3 separate regions of the Homo sapiens genome follow, and all the other regions are linked to region 2. Evidence: promoter capture Hi-C in 16 types of primary human blood cells and fetal thymus (Javierre and others, 2016). All regions are on one chromosome and are shown on one strand. The core of a region is centred on a gene start or on the middle of the fragment in contact, and the rest is flanking DNA. Distances in the headings are between cores, read along the strand shown.

Region 1 (3,084 bases), core at 471-2,970, 440 kb after region 2:
CTCACCTAATGTCACAGGGTCAGTGAGCTGGGATTCAAACCCAGGCATTCTGGCTCCCAAGGCTTCCCCAAGTGTGAAGAAGCAGCATATACAGGAATGCTCTGATAGCAGGGATCTGCTCAAGGAACTATGGAACAAACACCCATCTCTCCAGGTCTCTTTGTCTCTTTGTTCAGTTTTGAATTCCAAGGAGTTATCATCCTGCTGGCCTCGAATAGGGTGTTAACGAATCCACTGAAAAGGAATGTTTTTAAAAAGAGTCTTTATTCCAACCAGCAGTTTGCCAACTGGGGAGACTCAGCCTTCAGTATAAAACAAAGGCACGTCTGCCAGAACAAAGAGAAGGGCTATCCTGCATAGAAAAAGTTTCTGCTTAGATTCTAATCCCAGTTCCCATTGCATCTGAGGGATGCAAGCTTGTTCAGTTCTGATTTGCTGATGTTAAAGTTGACCACGGGTCACATTTCATTGGTCAGGTTCAGGTGGTAGAATGAGGACGTCGGCAGCAGTTGATTCTGGCAGTGTGAGCAGGAACAGACAGCTAAGAAGGCCCCAACATTGAGCTACTGTTCGGCTTGCACAGGGCATGTAGGGAACCTGCAGTAGGCAAATGGCTTTCAGCGCCACTCAGAATTCAGACCCGGATAGCCCCTCAGGATCCATCTCGAAGGGCTGGCTCTCTCAGGGTTCACACAGGCATGTGCCTACCCCTTGTCAGGGTGAAGGCAGTGGTACTGGAGTCCTAATTCCAGCCCTACCAGGCTGTGCTCAGTGGAGAAAAGGCAACTTCTCAAAGCAAAATTGGGATACTGTTATAGAGGATAATGGAAGGTCAACAGCAGAAAAACAATGGTCCCTGCAGCTGTCGGGGAAGCTCTCTCTGGGGTTCTCATTCTACCGAGAACCACCATGAGTAGAGTGCCAGTCCCTGAACCCAGGGCCTTCCATGCACACCATCATTAAACCTTGAGGCAGGCCTTTGGGGTGGGTATCATCACCCCAATTCACACGTGAGGACACGAAGTCTCACAGAGGGCAAGAAACTAGGTCACGTAAAATTAGGGTTTGAATTCAGGGCCCAACCCTGAAGCCCAGCTCTAAGGGTTGCTGGATAAACACCCAGCAGTGCTCCTGAATGGGTGGCCGGCAGGTTGGGGAGGGTCAGCTTATTCTGCTTGCAGGGCCTAGGCTAGTGTGGAGCTGAGCTGGTGCCTGGACTTCCAGAGAGCAGGGCACTTCGGTCACCATCTGCTGGCTCCTAAATCCGAGTTGCTGGCTCAATGGGAAGTGTGTGTTGTCCAGCCAGCCAGCCTGTACTCCACGGCGTCCATTCCTGCACCTTCCACCCTTCTCAGGATTCCCAGAGCCTTTATCTGAAAACTCCCTGTGAGAAAGGAGTCTCCCCTCACCCCTGGACCAGCTCTCCCTCCCACCCTCCTACACTGGAGGGATCTGAGAAAAGAAAAGGAAGGAAAGTCAGAAGGGAGAATGGCTCTTGTTTTCCTCATCTGAAGTGGGGAAGAATCTAAAACAACCCAAACAAGTGGAACCCAGGAGCTCCCACCACGGCGGGACCCCCAGGAAGTCTGTGTTCCAGCCCCCAGTGCAGGACCAGGGAGTGAGCCGGGATGAACAGGCAGCGAGGGGAGGCCACATCGAGAGTGAGAAGTGGGATCCCTAGTAGGAGACACAGAGGATGCCTTGGGCTGCAGCACTGGGACCTTTGCCTAGGGGAGCCCAGACGCGTCCTGCCCTTTTGCAGCTCCCCAGAGCACACAGCACGAAATCAGTGAATTCAGAAGACACTGTTGAGTGCCCGTTCTGCACAGGCTCTGTACTAGGGACACAAAGATGATTGAACGGCTCACTCTGGAAGTCCTGATCTAGTGAGGGACACGGTCAAGTAGATAAGTAACTAAGACCTCAGACAGATGATGGCGAGGGCCACAGTCGGAGGTAAGCGAGAGGTGATGGCAGAACAGAGATGAACCACAAAGTTCATGGAGTCTGGGGGGAAGACTTCGTGGAAAAGGAGGATTTGAGTTGGACGTGGGCAAGCTGAGCTAGGACTGGAGATGAGTGTGATAAACGGCCGTGACAGCCGGGACAAGGGCTCATAACTAGAGGAGACGAGAAGGAGGTGGGTCTTCTGGAAGATAGGTGCTTGGGTTGCAGATTTTCCCAGGGAAAAAGAAGGGGATGTTCCCCGTGAGCAGAACTCACCTCTCTCCTGATAGGCGGCTGGCAGTCGCTTGCTGAATGAATACATCGGTGAATGGATGAAGGGCTTGACAGCCAGGCTGAGGCGCTCCCTCTTTGTTCTGCATGAATCACAGCAGTGGAACTCTTGAGCCCAAAGGGCCAGAAGGAGAGACAAGAGTACATTCTGGCAAAAGCAGGATTTCTTCCTGAAGGAGGAGCACATCTCTAGTTGGAACAGGACAAATCGGGCCTGACCTGGATTCCTGGTTTCAGCAGCGCATCCGTGGACCTCCTTTTAGTCCCTCTGTATTCTTTGCTAGGGTTGCCAGAGCAAAGTACCACAAACTGGGTGGCTTAGAACCACAGAAATATATCGTCTCACTGTTCTGGAAGCCAGAAGACTGAAATCAGGGTGTCGGCAGGGCTATGCTGCCCCTGAGGGCTCTGGGAAGGACCTGCTCCGGCCTCTCTCCCAGCTCCTTGTAGATCCTTGGCAGCATAACTCCAATCTTCACGTGGTGCTTTCCCTAGCACCTGTCTGTCTCTATGTCCAAATCTCCCCTCTTCATAAGGACACCAGTCCTGCTGGATTAGGGCCCACCCTAATGACCTCATTCTAACTGAATCATCTCTTCAAGTACAGTCACATTCTGAGGTGCTGGGGGTTAGGACTTCAATGTCTAAATTTTGGGGGACACAATTCAGTCCGTCGCCCTTCCCCTGAGGCTGGTCCAGGATACAGGCTTGCATTGAGCAGTATCTCCAACCATTTGAAAATGCCAGGCAGCCTTCCCCAGCCCAGCACCCCAGAGGCCTAAAATGAAAGCTTGGATGATGGGAAGGTGCTTCTCAGGCTGTCTGGGCAGCTTTCATCTTCCTGCT
Region 2 (2,836 bases), core at 177-2,676:
ATTAACTCAAGACCCCTTGTCTCCAAACCTCAACTTTGACTAGTTAGAGAATCACACAGAAATCATTATAAAGTGCTTAGAACATCAGAGTTTTCACGTGGTGACTAATACTTTTATTGACTTATTTTTATTGATACATAATATTTGTACGTATTGATGGGGTACATGTGCTATTTTGTTACATGTGCAGAATGTGTGATATCGAGTTGGGGTATTTAGGCTATCTATCCCCTCCAGTATTTATCATTTCTTTTCTTCTTTCCTTCTCTCTCTCTCTTTTCTTTCTCTCTCTCTCTCTTTTTTCTTTTTTTTTTTTTTTTTTTTTTGACAGAGTCTCTCTCTGTCACCCAGGCTAGAGGGCAGTGGCACGACCTCAGTTCACTGCAACCTCCACCTCCCAGGTTCAAGGGATTCTCCTGCCTCAGCCTCCCAAGTAGCTGGGATTACAAGCATCCGCCACCACACCGGGCTAATTTTTTGTATTTTTAGTAGAGACAGGGTTTCATGATGTTGGCCAGACTGGTCTTGATCTCCTGACCTCGGGTGATCAACCCTCCTCGGCCTCCCAAAGTGCTGGGATTACAGGTGTGAGCCACCACACCCAGCCTGTATAATCATTTCTATGGGCAAACACATTTATCAAACCACCTCCATCCTCTAACATTTGTTTTTTCTCAGACGTGAGATCCTATTTGTAGGACTATAACAACAAGGAACTTTATTAATATGATGTCTAGAGAATGAAAGAGGCACATGTGCCCTAGAGGAAGAGCCGATGTCCTCTGTGAGTTCTCCTCTATCAGGGGTCAGGTTGGATGAAATCTAACCCCCACCTGCCTTTGTAAATAAAGTTTTATTGGAACACAGCCACACCCATTCATCTGTGTCACATCTACGGCTGCTTTGTCACTACAACAGCAAAGTTGAGTAGTTGCAGCACAGACTTTGCGTGGCCCACAAAGCTGAAAATATTCATGGTCTGGGCCTTTACAGAAAAGGTTTGCTGACCCCAGTGCTGAATCACTATGGGATTGCCTGTGCAGGAGCTGTGCCAGCTGTGTTCACATAATGCATCCTGCTTTCATTCACCAACCTCCCTTCCGACTACAAAACTCTGCCATTCTCTGATGCAGGAGATGGGACTCAAGACCACACCGTGCACTTCTCCGTAAAGCCACCTCCTGGACCAGTTGGGTTTCTTGCTCCTTTTCCTTCTGAAGCAATCCTCTCTCTCCCATGAGGCCCCCTGAGCGCACTAAGCAGAGGTGCCGCCTCTGAGTGGAATGTGCCAGGCCCCAGAGCTGCCTCTGAGTCTGCAGGAGTGCAGAGTGGGCAGAGGGCTCTCTCTGCTGTTTTCCATCAGGGCGTGTCCCATCTCAGTCTAACAGGGAGGTGCCCAGAAAATAGGTGGAGGTGAGGGCCACTCAGCCCAGTGGCCCTCTGAGCTGTTCCTTCTTGACCGGCACACACAGCTCGCTTCTTCACTTTCTTTTCCATCCACTGCCGGACCCAAGCCAGCCTTCCAGGGAGCAGCCATGCCTTACCTCTACCGGGCCCCAGGGCCTCAGGCACACCCGGTTCCCAAGGACGCCCGGATCACCCACTCCTCAGGCCAGAGCTTTGAGCAAATGAGGCAGGAGTGCCTGCAGAGAGGCACCCTGTTTGAGGATGCAGACTTCCCAGCCAGCAATTCCTCCCTGTTCTACAGTGAGAGGCCGCAGATCCCCTTTGTGTGGAAACGACCAGGGGTGAGTGGGGCGAGCAGGGGAAGGAGCATAGATGAGGCCGAGGTTCAGCAGCCCCCGCAGGAAGTGGAAACAGGGGTGCTGGGGAGGGGCCGGCTACGCTCAGTGCAACTGAGGTGCATCATCCCAGTCTACCGTGGAAAGCTTTGCAGTTTGGAGGCAGAAAATAATGTACAGGCCTGGGATGCTCTGCGGTGGGGACCCGGGGCATCTGGTTGTACCCGCTCCCCGGCTCCAAGCTGTCTGACTCCCACCGAGGCTGAGGACCTGGAGTCAGAGTGGGTCTTGTCAGCAGGTGATAGGCACGAATCAAAACCTTATCCACAAGGACAGGCCCCCACCCTGTGTGTGGTAACACTGAGATCACGTTATGCACAGTGTTCTGTGGCTTCTGGCCCAGAGCTGAGGGTGCTCAGTGTGGATGGATGTTTGGCTCAGCAAGGTCTCAGCAACCGGGTGACAGATGGAATACAAGGGAAGCAGGAATCTTCTCCCGAGAACCATGCACCCCCCATTCCCAGAGATCAGGGTGAACAGTGCCCCACCTCTGACAGTCTGGAGGTGTCGTCCCAAGAGGCACCAGCTGGTCACTGGGTCCCAAGAGGTGCTAGCTTGTGCCTGGGACGCCATGTCAATATTTGCGGTGCTGGATTAGTCAGGGCTCTACCTCTGACCCGGCGCCAGCTGGGCTGGCTTCCATTCCCTCCAGGTGGGTACGGGCCTGGGAGTGGCTCCTGTGGGGTCCGGTTGCTTTTGGGCAAGGAGGGGCAGTACAAGGGATGCTGGTCCTACAAGTGAGATCCTGAGTGCCTGTCTTATCCTGACAATTTGTCTCATGCATATAGTCATATCACTTCATTTCCCTGAGCCTCAGTCTCCTCACCTGTAAAATGGGAACAATAATGGCTAATGCAGGCCAATGTCTAGCACACAGAAGGTTTCCAGTACATTACAGCTATTGTCACATTATTACTATTACTGATACTATTATTATCATCATTACAATGATTATTAGCTCTGAGTCTCATCTTACATATGAGTAGCAAAGGACTCATCATAACTACCTCCTCACTATCTCCCAACATTAAAAT
Region 3 (2,853 bases), core at 306-2,805, 460 kb after region 2:
GCTTTCCAAATGCTAGAGGAGCCTGGTGAGCAGCATTGCTCTCTTTCAGGAAGTGTACGTCGGTAAGGAGACTTTGTGTACCATCGACGGTCTTCACTTCAACAGCACCTACAACGCCCGAGTCAAAGCTTTCAACTCTTCTGGTGTCGGGCCTTACAGTAAAACTGTCGTCCTGCAGACATCCGATGGTGAGCATCGGGATCTCTTAGTGGGAAGAACAGATTCATCATTTTATCCAGTGACAACCAGACAGCCACTTGTGGCAGCTATGATGATGGGGTAGGGGTGGGGGGTGGTGCTGGGCACGGCTGGGTTCTCCAAGGGCGTGCCCTTCTGGGACCACAGGCGGGCTCCCAAAGGACAAAGATTGACTCCTAGGGCCAACCCACATTTCATCCCGTGGACCAGGGGAAAGGATGAGCTGCTGAAGATGGGGGAGGGAGGAAGTGCAGGGCCGGAGGGGCCGGTTGAGGTGCATACGCCTCACCCTGCTCTGCACACACAGCTCTTTGCTGCACCCACATGGCCTACAAGCCACGAAAGAAACATTCATTTACCCCATTGTGCTGGACTAAATGTGAAGTAGCTAAGGGAGGCTAAACTTCTCCCACTTCTCAAGGGCTGAGGAGTGAGTAGGACAGTCCCAGACAAGAAAACTCCACGATAGATGCAGTGGGCCCACACCAGTCCCTACATTTGAGCCTTTCTCACAGCGGAAAAGTGCCCTTTAATCCCCAGCATCAGAGCTCACATCCAGTGATTTATACACCTACCTGCAGCCTTTTAGGTCTTGGGCAACAACAGCATGTTGATATTAATTCAGTGGAATTTTGATCATCTGAGTTCTTAGCAGAGAGCAATGAGAGAAATAGGAATCACATTCCAAAGAGAGTTCTGCTCCCCCAGGTGTGGCCCAGCCCAGGCTGCAGAGGCAGTTTCCAGCTCCCCACTGCCTCCAAGAAGAGGGCAAATCGTGCATTCATTGTTATCATTTAGTCCACACATCCTCTGACTGCCACAGCTGGATGGTCTCCTAGAGGCAGGGAGGAGTAGGAGCATGAGCAGATGCTGGTGTCAAAAGGCCCAGCCAGGGACACTTTTCTGAAAATGATGCCACCTGCAGAGTCACTTTGTACACCCCTAGAGGAGAGCTCGCTAGCTTCTGCCTCTAGACTCTCCTGCCTGCCCAGAGATGAGCGGTCCTTGCCCTGTGCATTGTGGTCATGACTTTAGAGTAAGGGACTCACTTCTATCAACCTGGGGGGTTGGGGAGCAAAAGGGGGCACCACCTGATGGGCTGCAAAATGGAGAATTGAGCTTTGTGATTTTGGCCACATCACTTCACCTCTCTGTGTCTCAAATCTCCCACCCATGAGGTGGCTCATCAATATCGATTTCCTCCTGTACTTTTTTTTTTTTTTTTTTGAGATGAAGTCCCACTCTGTTGCCCAGGCTGGAGTGCAATGGCACAATCTTGGCTCACTGCAACCTCTGCCAACCTGTTCAAGTGATTGTCCTGCCTCAGCCTCCCAAGCAGCTGGGACTATAGGCGCCCACCACCATGTCCAGCGAATTTTTTTTTTTTTTTTGAGACAGAGTCTTGATCTGTCGCCCAAGCTGGAGTGTAGTGGCGTGATCATGGCTCACTGCAAGCTCTGTCTCCCAGGTTCACACCTTTCTCCTGCCTCAGCCTCCCGAGTGGCTGGGACTACAGGCACCTGCCACCACGCCCGGCTAATTTTTTTGTATTTTTAGTAGAGACAGGGTTTCACTGTGTTAGCCAGGATGGTCTTGATCTCCTGACCTCGTGATCCTCCCGCCTCGGCCTCCCAAAGTGCTGGGATTACAGGTGTGAACCACCATGCCCGGCCACGAATTTTTGTATTTTTAGTAGAGACGGAGTTTAACCATGCTGGCCAGGCTGGTCTCAAACCGCTGACCTGAGGTGATCCACCCACCTCGGCTTCCCAAAGTGCTGGGATTACAGGCGTGGACCACTGCTCCCAGGCTATTTCCTCCTGTATTTCTAACTGTGAGCATTTGGAAGGGTTTTAGAAACCAAGACCAGAAAATGCATCTAGATTTGAGGTTTTGAGGCCTGAAAATCCTTGGCAAGGCCAGGCTCGTAGGGCTGGCAACTTGGATGAACACAGAGCAGGGAGTGTGTGCATGTGTGTACGTTTGTGTGTGTGTGCACGTGTGTGGTAATCATACAGGAAAGACCCTTCACTTCTGGGTGCCGACTTTCTAACAGAAGCGAATGTGTTTGTGTCTCTGAGCCGGTTAGAAACTACTAGCAAATTCCATCCCCTGACCCTGCTCCTCTCACCTCCTCCCTTTTTAGTGGCCTGGTTCACATTTGACCCCAACTCTGGGCATCGGGACATCATTTTATCCAATGACAACCAGACAGCCACCTGCAGCAGCTATGACGACCGGGTGGTGCTGGGCACAGCTGCGTTCTCCAAGGGCGTGCACTACTGGGAGCTGCACGTGGACCGGTACGACAACCACCCAGACCCCGCCTTCGGGGTGGCCAGGGCCAGCGTGGTCAAGGACATGATGCTGGGCAAGGATGACAAGGCCTGGGCCATGTATGTGGACAACAACCGCAGCTGGTTCATGCACTGCAACTCCCACACCAACAGGTGCGATTGGGCCCCATCCTGCCTCCCGTGGACACAGGTTGTTTGGGAATGAGGGTCCTGAAGACCAGTGTCCCTTCTGCTGTCCCCAAAGCCAGGAGGAATTGAGAGGAGGTATTTTCAGCCACTTTGGTCTCCATTTTCTAGGAGGCCTTCACTCTGCCCATATAGAACTGGCCTGCAGCCCAGATGAGGGTATGTTATGGTG

What was found. The method cuts DNA at HindIII sites, captures the fragments that hold promoters and counts their contacts. A CHiCAGO score of 5 or more calls a contact.
Region 1: a fragment that was not itself captured here is called in contact with the fragment with the promoter of CAPN9 in region 2 in 1 of 17 cell types (endothelial precursors); the score reaches 5.0 in endothelial precursors.
Region 3: a contact is called between a fragment that was not itself captured here and the fragment with the promoter of CAPN9 in region 2, in 1 of 17 cell types (naive B cells). The highest score is 5.2, in naive B cells.

The regions. Positions count from the first base shown.
Region 1 is chr1:231,183,853-231,186,936 of GRCh38, forward strand. The region is part of intron 1 of TRIM67 (tripartite motif containing 67); the gene reads left to right. It overlaps TRIM67-AS1 (TRIM67 antisense RNA 1), which reads right to left. Exons shown (of 3, transcript NR_166514.1): 2 at 2,224-2,321; 3 at 246-1,384. Among named protein-coding and RNA genes, the nearest start is that of TRIM67-AS1, 2.2 kb to the right of the region's middle. RefSeq lists an enhancer at 1-491. The HindIII fragment of the contact is 2,612 bases long and covers 415-3,026 here.
Region 2 is chr1:230,745,962-230,748,797 of GRCh38, forward strand. CAPN9 (calpain 9) reads left to right here and starts at 1,427. Exons shown (of 20, transcript NM_006615.3): 1 at 1,427-1,748. The coding sequence starts at 1,536. The HindIII fragment of the contact is 4,090 bases long and covers 1-1,887 here.
Region 3 is chr1:231,206,603-231,209,455 of GRCh38, forward strand. It overlaps TRIM67 (tripartite motif containing 67), which reads left to right. Exons shown (of 10, transcript NM_001004342.5): 7 at 50-188; 8 at 2,345-2,648. Among named protein-coding and RNA genes, the nearest start is that of TRIM67-AS1, 20 kb to the left of the region's middle. The HindIII fragment of the contact is 2,858 bases long and covers 127-2,853 here.